2 separate regions of the Homo sapiens genome follow, and region 1 is linked to region 2. The links are contacts of gene promoters, found by promoter capture Hi-C in blood cells and fetal thymus (Javierre and others, 2016). All regions are on one chromosome and are shown on one strand. The core of a region is centred on a gene start or on the middle of the fragment in contact, and the rest is flanking DNA. Distances in the headings are between cores, read along the strand shown.

Region 1 (2,700 bases), core at 10-2,509, 82 kb before region 2:
TCCTGGGAGCTGGCCTGGAGCTACCTGCCCCGCCAACCTACAGCCACATACCTTGGAATCCCAGGGGGTGGGCAGGGGCAGGACCTGGCCATGTCCAAAGTGACCAGTGTCTCCTCCCTGAGCCAACCCCGTGACTCTCTTGGTTGTGGGGAAGTCAGGGGTCATGGGATTTGAACCCCTGAGATGTAACGGCCCCTGGCTCTGGAAGAACAGGTGGGACAAGAGTTTGGGGAGGAGGCCTGGAGTCTGTGCACACACCTGTCGGGGACGTGGGGGATTCCTGCCCAGGGGGCCAGTGCTCAGTCTCTGCCAGGCCCTGCAGAGGGAGAGGGCTCAGCACCCTGCACAGCCCCCGGCCCTGAGGGCAGCTCCCATCCCCTGAGGATACAGCCTGGGCGCTCACAGTCCCAGCACTGCTTCCTGTCCATCTTCCTCCCCCGCAGCCCAGGGCAGAGCTGAGCACGCAACTGCGCTTCCAGGCACCAGCCCACTGCCCTCAAGGAGCTCAGGGACCTTATTCTCAGCAGCCCACCAGGGTGATCCATTTCAGCTCTTGCCCCTCAAACTCCCCTTCCCCCACCCAATGCACATGTCCACCCCCTACCCCCTACCCCACCCACACACTCTGGGTTGCTGACCAGGCCATTCCAGGTGGGAAGGTGCTCCGCGCCTTCTCCACACTATAGACACCCCTCTCCAGCCCTCAAGTCTTGTCCGGGAAGCCCCTGGGGACCCGGGCACAGGGCTCTTTTCGGCTCTGAGCACCAGATGCCCTGGTGCCTGCCCCGTGGGCATAAGCTCCCTATCAGGGGTGCAGGCTTCTCTTGTCCCCAAACCCCTCTGGGCCCTCGCTCTGCCTGCACGTCTCTGCAGCCAGGCACCGGCAAGGCTCCTGAGAGCAGTACCAGGGAACACACAGGAGGAAATGCTGCGGAGAGGGGAGACGCCGCCAGCTGGTGCAGGAGCAGGGCTGGTGAGGCTGTGAGGCGAGGTCCCCGTCCCCCCACTCCACCCTCTGGGCCCAAGGCTCTACACTCACCTCCCTGGGCCAGTGCAGCAGCTGCCCCGGCTGGGCAGAGGAGAGGGCCAGGGTCTTGGCTGTGGAATGGAATCTGGGGAGAAAAATAGCCAAAAGGACTCCAGGGGCCCTCCCAGCACCAGTGCCCCCCTTCCAGGCAGGGGCGTCAGTGTGCTTTTGCTGGGCCTGGGGTCTTTGCGGGAGTGAGCATTCAGGAAGGACTCTGCCCACTGAGGCTGGACAAAGGCGATGTTCCCAACAGTAGCTCCCAACTTGACCATGGGTTAGAATCACCTGAGGGGCTTGTAAGACACACATTGCTGCACCCCACCCCTGCAGGTCTGGGCGGGCCCGAGAACCTGCCCTTCTAACAAGCTCCAGGTGCTGCCGATGCTGCTGGTCCAGGGCCCACACCTGGAGAACCCCTGACTCAACTATGAGAAAGGCAGGGAATCCTAGAATCCAGGTGGGAAAGGGCCTTGAAGGCACCCGGCTGCAGCTCCTCAGCATGCAGGGTCTGGGCACCTTGGGGGTGAAGGCAGTGCCGGGCCCCTCCCACATGGCTGTCCCCTCAAAGGCCAGGCCAAGGGCGTGAGCTGCACGGCCGGCCACAGTATACCTGCCAGTGCCCTCAGGCAGCAACACACAGCCCTCCTCATCCGAGCCATCCTCGCAGTCCAGAACACCGTCACAAGGGCCCCCTCTCAGGACACACTCACCACTGGCACAGCGGAGTCCAACCCCTGGGCACAGAGGTGCCGGTGGGGACCCTGTGTGGAGGACGTATGGCTGAGGGCTCCTCCCATGGCCCCTCTCTCTCCTGCCCTGCCCACCCCTGCGCAACCTGTACCTGGCTCGCAGCCCAGCAGCTCCACCTGCAGGGGGACATCGCTGTGGTGGACATCGTGGGGCCACACCCTGACAAACCTCGCCTGCACCATGCGGCCGAAAGTCCATACGGCAGGGTCCAGGTCATCCCAGTTTCTGGGGAAAAGCTGCCAGCAGAGGATGCGGATGACTGAGCTTCACCTCTTTTTCAGGCTGACCTCATGACTTTGAGTGACCCCACTTTTTCCCCAGTTTTCACGGCCCCTCCCAGAGCCATGCCCCCCACCCTGGCAGTAGGCATTTGGGCCTCTCAAGGCTGGAGGGGGCTGGTCCTGGACTGAGCTCCTCTCGCTAAGCTGGAGGTGCCCCTAGGGCAAAGGCCAGGTCCTGTTCACTGCTGTGTCCCCAGGGCCTGGCTCGGCACCTGGCACAGAGCAGGTGCTCCTGAAACAGTTAAGACTTAACACAGCACGGACTGATTCCTACCGCTTCGTGCGGTTTGTCTCCGGGAAGGATGCAAACCCCCTGAGGGCAGGGCTGTGCCCAGGCTGCTCTCCACGAAGACGTGCGTGGGTCTGGGCTCCCGGAGGCCCTCAGTGAACTTGGTGTCTCCCCATCCTCTCTCCCTTGCAGGCTTCACATACCTGCCCTGAGTCTGAGCCACTTGGATGGTTTCCAGCATCCATGTGACAGTGGCACCCAAGCCTCGGCTCCACAGAGCACAGTCCCTGCTACTCACCAGGTATTCAACAAGCATCGAATGCAGGCCATGCCCCTCGGGGACACTGGAAGGCCCTTGGGGACAAAGACTATGGAACCCACAAAAGGGCATGGTGGGCTGCTGGCCCCATCGG
Region 2 (2,700 bases), core at 93-2,592:
CTCCTAACATCACCCTTCCACCGTGTCACTAGCCCAGCACAAAAACTGCAGCTTCAGTGCCTGCTGGACCTGCCCCTCTCTCACAGTCCTTCCCAACCTAGACCTGCTCTCCCAGTGGGCCTCAGGCTCGGGCTCCCTGATCAGACCCTGCCACAGGACCTCTCAACCTGGAGGCTGTGCTCACATTGCCCTGGGCTTCTGGGAACCCTCCCTGCTCCTCTCCACCTTACAGTGACCTACCACTCCCCAAGGTCACTCCTGGCCACCTTCTCCATGAAGCTACGTAGTGTGAGGATATTCCCCTCATCAGATCTGAAAGGTCAATGGCCCAAACTCCTCACTTTACAGAACAGGAAACTGTGGTATGAGGAGGCCTTAGGATGGGGCCATGGGCATGTCTGAACCAGGGTGTCCCTAGGCTACTTAACTGTGCAGCCAGACCTGAAAAGGACACTTGACTGTCCCTGCCCAACAACATCCAATTTGCCTAGCCTCTCCCTTCTCCCCAAATGCTTGGGGGCACTAATGACGCCAAGGGCCTGGCACAGTGTTTGCTCTGCCTAGTCACACGCTGCCCCCCATCCATGGCTGCCTCGGACTGGCCAAAGCTCAGGAGCCACCACGGTTGCAGAACTGGCTCCAGGTGCCCATCCAGAAGAACGTGGAGCAGTTGCTGGTATCAGCACCAGATACCTGATACCTCACTGATATCAGCACCAGAGTTTCCCAGCATCGTCACAGCCCACACACAACCTAGCCCAAACGGTGCCCAGGCTGTCACGGCCTGGGGCTCTCCCTCCAGTTCTCAGATCTAAACGCCTTACCTGCAGGCTTCCCAAGACAAAACTTGGGGTTTGTTCTATCTTTGTTTCTCCCCATTTCCACGTCCCCAGCCCCCGGGATCCAGGATTCCACCAAGAACAGAAGTATGAGATTTACTCACTGCCTCCGAGGCCTTCATGCCCACTCTACCAGGATAACTTGTAACGAAACAAGCCACGCCAAGGGGGTTTCCCCAGGTGGAGACTGGGCCGTGGGTACCGGCGGCGGAGAGCTGGAGAGAGGTTGTCCGAGGACCTGAACTTCCCGGCACGAACCCCTGAGCATCAGGCCTGCCCAGCCTCACCCAGCCGATCCCGAAGTTGCGGGGGGGTCCCAGCTCTTTCTCGCCCTACCGCCTTCGGGGCCGCACTGCGCCGAGGGGTCCGCGCGTCCGCCTGCCTTACCTGGCGCGCCATCCCCGGGCTCAGCCTCCCCGCCACTCCTCGGTTTCCGGCGCGGGCCCTGGCGCGGGCGCACGCGACCCTCGTCGGCGGCGGCCCAGGTCCGCGCAGGAGAAGGCGGGGCCGGGGGCCTGGGCCGAGGGGGAGGGGCGGGGGTGGGCGCGCCCGGGCCCGCCCCCGGCCTCGTTGAGCCCGCCCCGAGCGCCTCGCATCCCTTGGTGGGTGGTGCCGTTTCCGCCCGGAGCCCCCGGCTTCGGCGGCCCGGCCGGCCGGCGCAGACGCGGACTACACTTCCCAGAAGGCGCCGCGGCGCCGGCTCGGAAGCGGGGGGCGGAGACAGGGCGGGGCGGACCTGGCTCGGGCCTCGTCCCCGCCCCCTCCCCTCGTCCCCGCCCCCAGCTGCGGGTAGAGGTTGCGCGCCGAGACCAGCCGGGGCGGCTGTGGGCGTGCAAGCCCGCGGGTACGCGCCGCTTATCACTCATTCATTCCCGCAGCCACCACTCAGCGCGTCCCATGTGCCAGGGGCTGATGGTGGGGATGAAGAGGGACCCATCTTTCCCAGAGGCCGCGGTCGGGGAAACCCGACCTGGAGTGAAAGGGGTCGAGGGTCCGGCCGGGCGTGGGTGGGACAGAGCAGCTGCCAGGCCCCCGTACATCCTCACGTCTTTCGCCCGCGCCCCCGCTCGCCGCAGCCATGACCTACCTTCGTGTCACATTTTGCGTGCCTGTTTGCTGGGGTGGTAACCCCAGTTGTTCCTGGCACATAGTAGGCCTCAAATAAACGTGTGATGCGGGAAGGAAGCGCGGCCCACTCTCCTCTGCCTCCCCCTGCGCTTCACGAGTTCGAAGGCCTGGTCTGGGCGGGCGCTGCGAGAGCGCTCCGGGGGTGCGGGCGAGGCGCAGCGAGCCTGGTTTTCCTGTCTGGAGAAGGACCCCGTCATTTTTATAGAAGGCTGCTGGAAGGGGGCCTGCGGGGCTAAGCCTGCTGTGCCAGACAGAAGCTTGGAGGGGAAGGGGAGGCTGTGGTCCCACGCAGAGGAGACTCTGCTCTGAGTTTGGAAGCCCCGTCCAGACCTTGCGGCCCAGACAGCGCTCTGCCTGGGCAATATCGGAGGGAAGGAAAGGGAATTCCTCGCCCAGTCGCCCGGGGCTGGCCCTTGCAGCCGCGCCGGCCATGATCACGGACTCGGGTACGATGCCGACAACCCCTCGTCCCGGCCTCCGAGGAAAGGCGCACGCCCACTCGGGCAAAGCCCCCTCGGTCATACCCGAGACACCTTAGACACAGGACCGGCGTGTGCGCAGCCTGCTGAACAAGGATTTGAAGATATCACAAGGCCCCACCTCGCGGAAAGGGAAAACTTAAAAGTCCAACTTTTCAAGAGCCCTACAGGCCACAGCCCTCAGGGTAAGTCGCCTCCTGGGCTTTAGGCCGGGTCCCACCTCCGTGCCGAGGTGAGGCGGGCTCCTTACAGTA

The links. The method cuts DNA at HindIII sites, captures the fragments that hold promoters and counts their contacts. A CHiCAGO score of 5 or more calls a contact.
Region 1: a fragment that was not itself captured here is called in contact with the fragment with the promoter of KRABD3 in region 2 in 1 of 17 cell types (neutrophils); the score reaches 5.0 in neutrophils.

The regions. Positions count from the first base shown.
Region 1 is chr7:149,795,684-149,798,383 of GRCh38, reverse strand. It overlaps the pseudogene SSPOP. Among named protein-coding and RNA genes, the nearest start is that of ZNF467, 23 kb to the right of the region's middle. The HindIII fragment of the contact is 8,655 bases long and covers 1-2,700 here.
Region 2 is chr7:149,713,593-149,716,292 of GRCh38, reverse strand. KRABD3 (KRAB domain containing 3) reads right to left here and starts at 1,342. Exons shown (of 17, transcript NM_001290187.2): 1 at 1,227-1,342. The coding sequence starts at 1,238. RefSeq lists enhancers at 420-1,052, 1,690-2,189 and silencers at 1,255-1,694, 2,521-2,700. The HindIII fragment of the contact is 2,289 bases long and covers 1-2,226 here.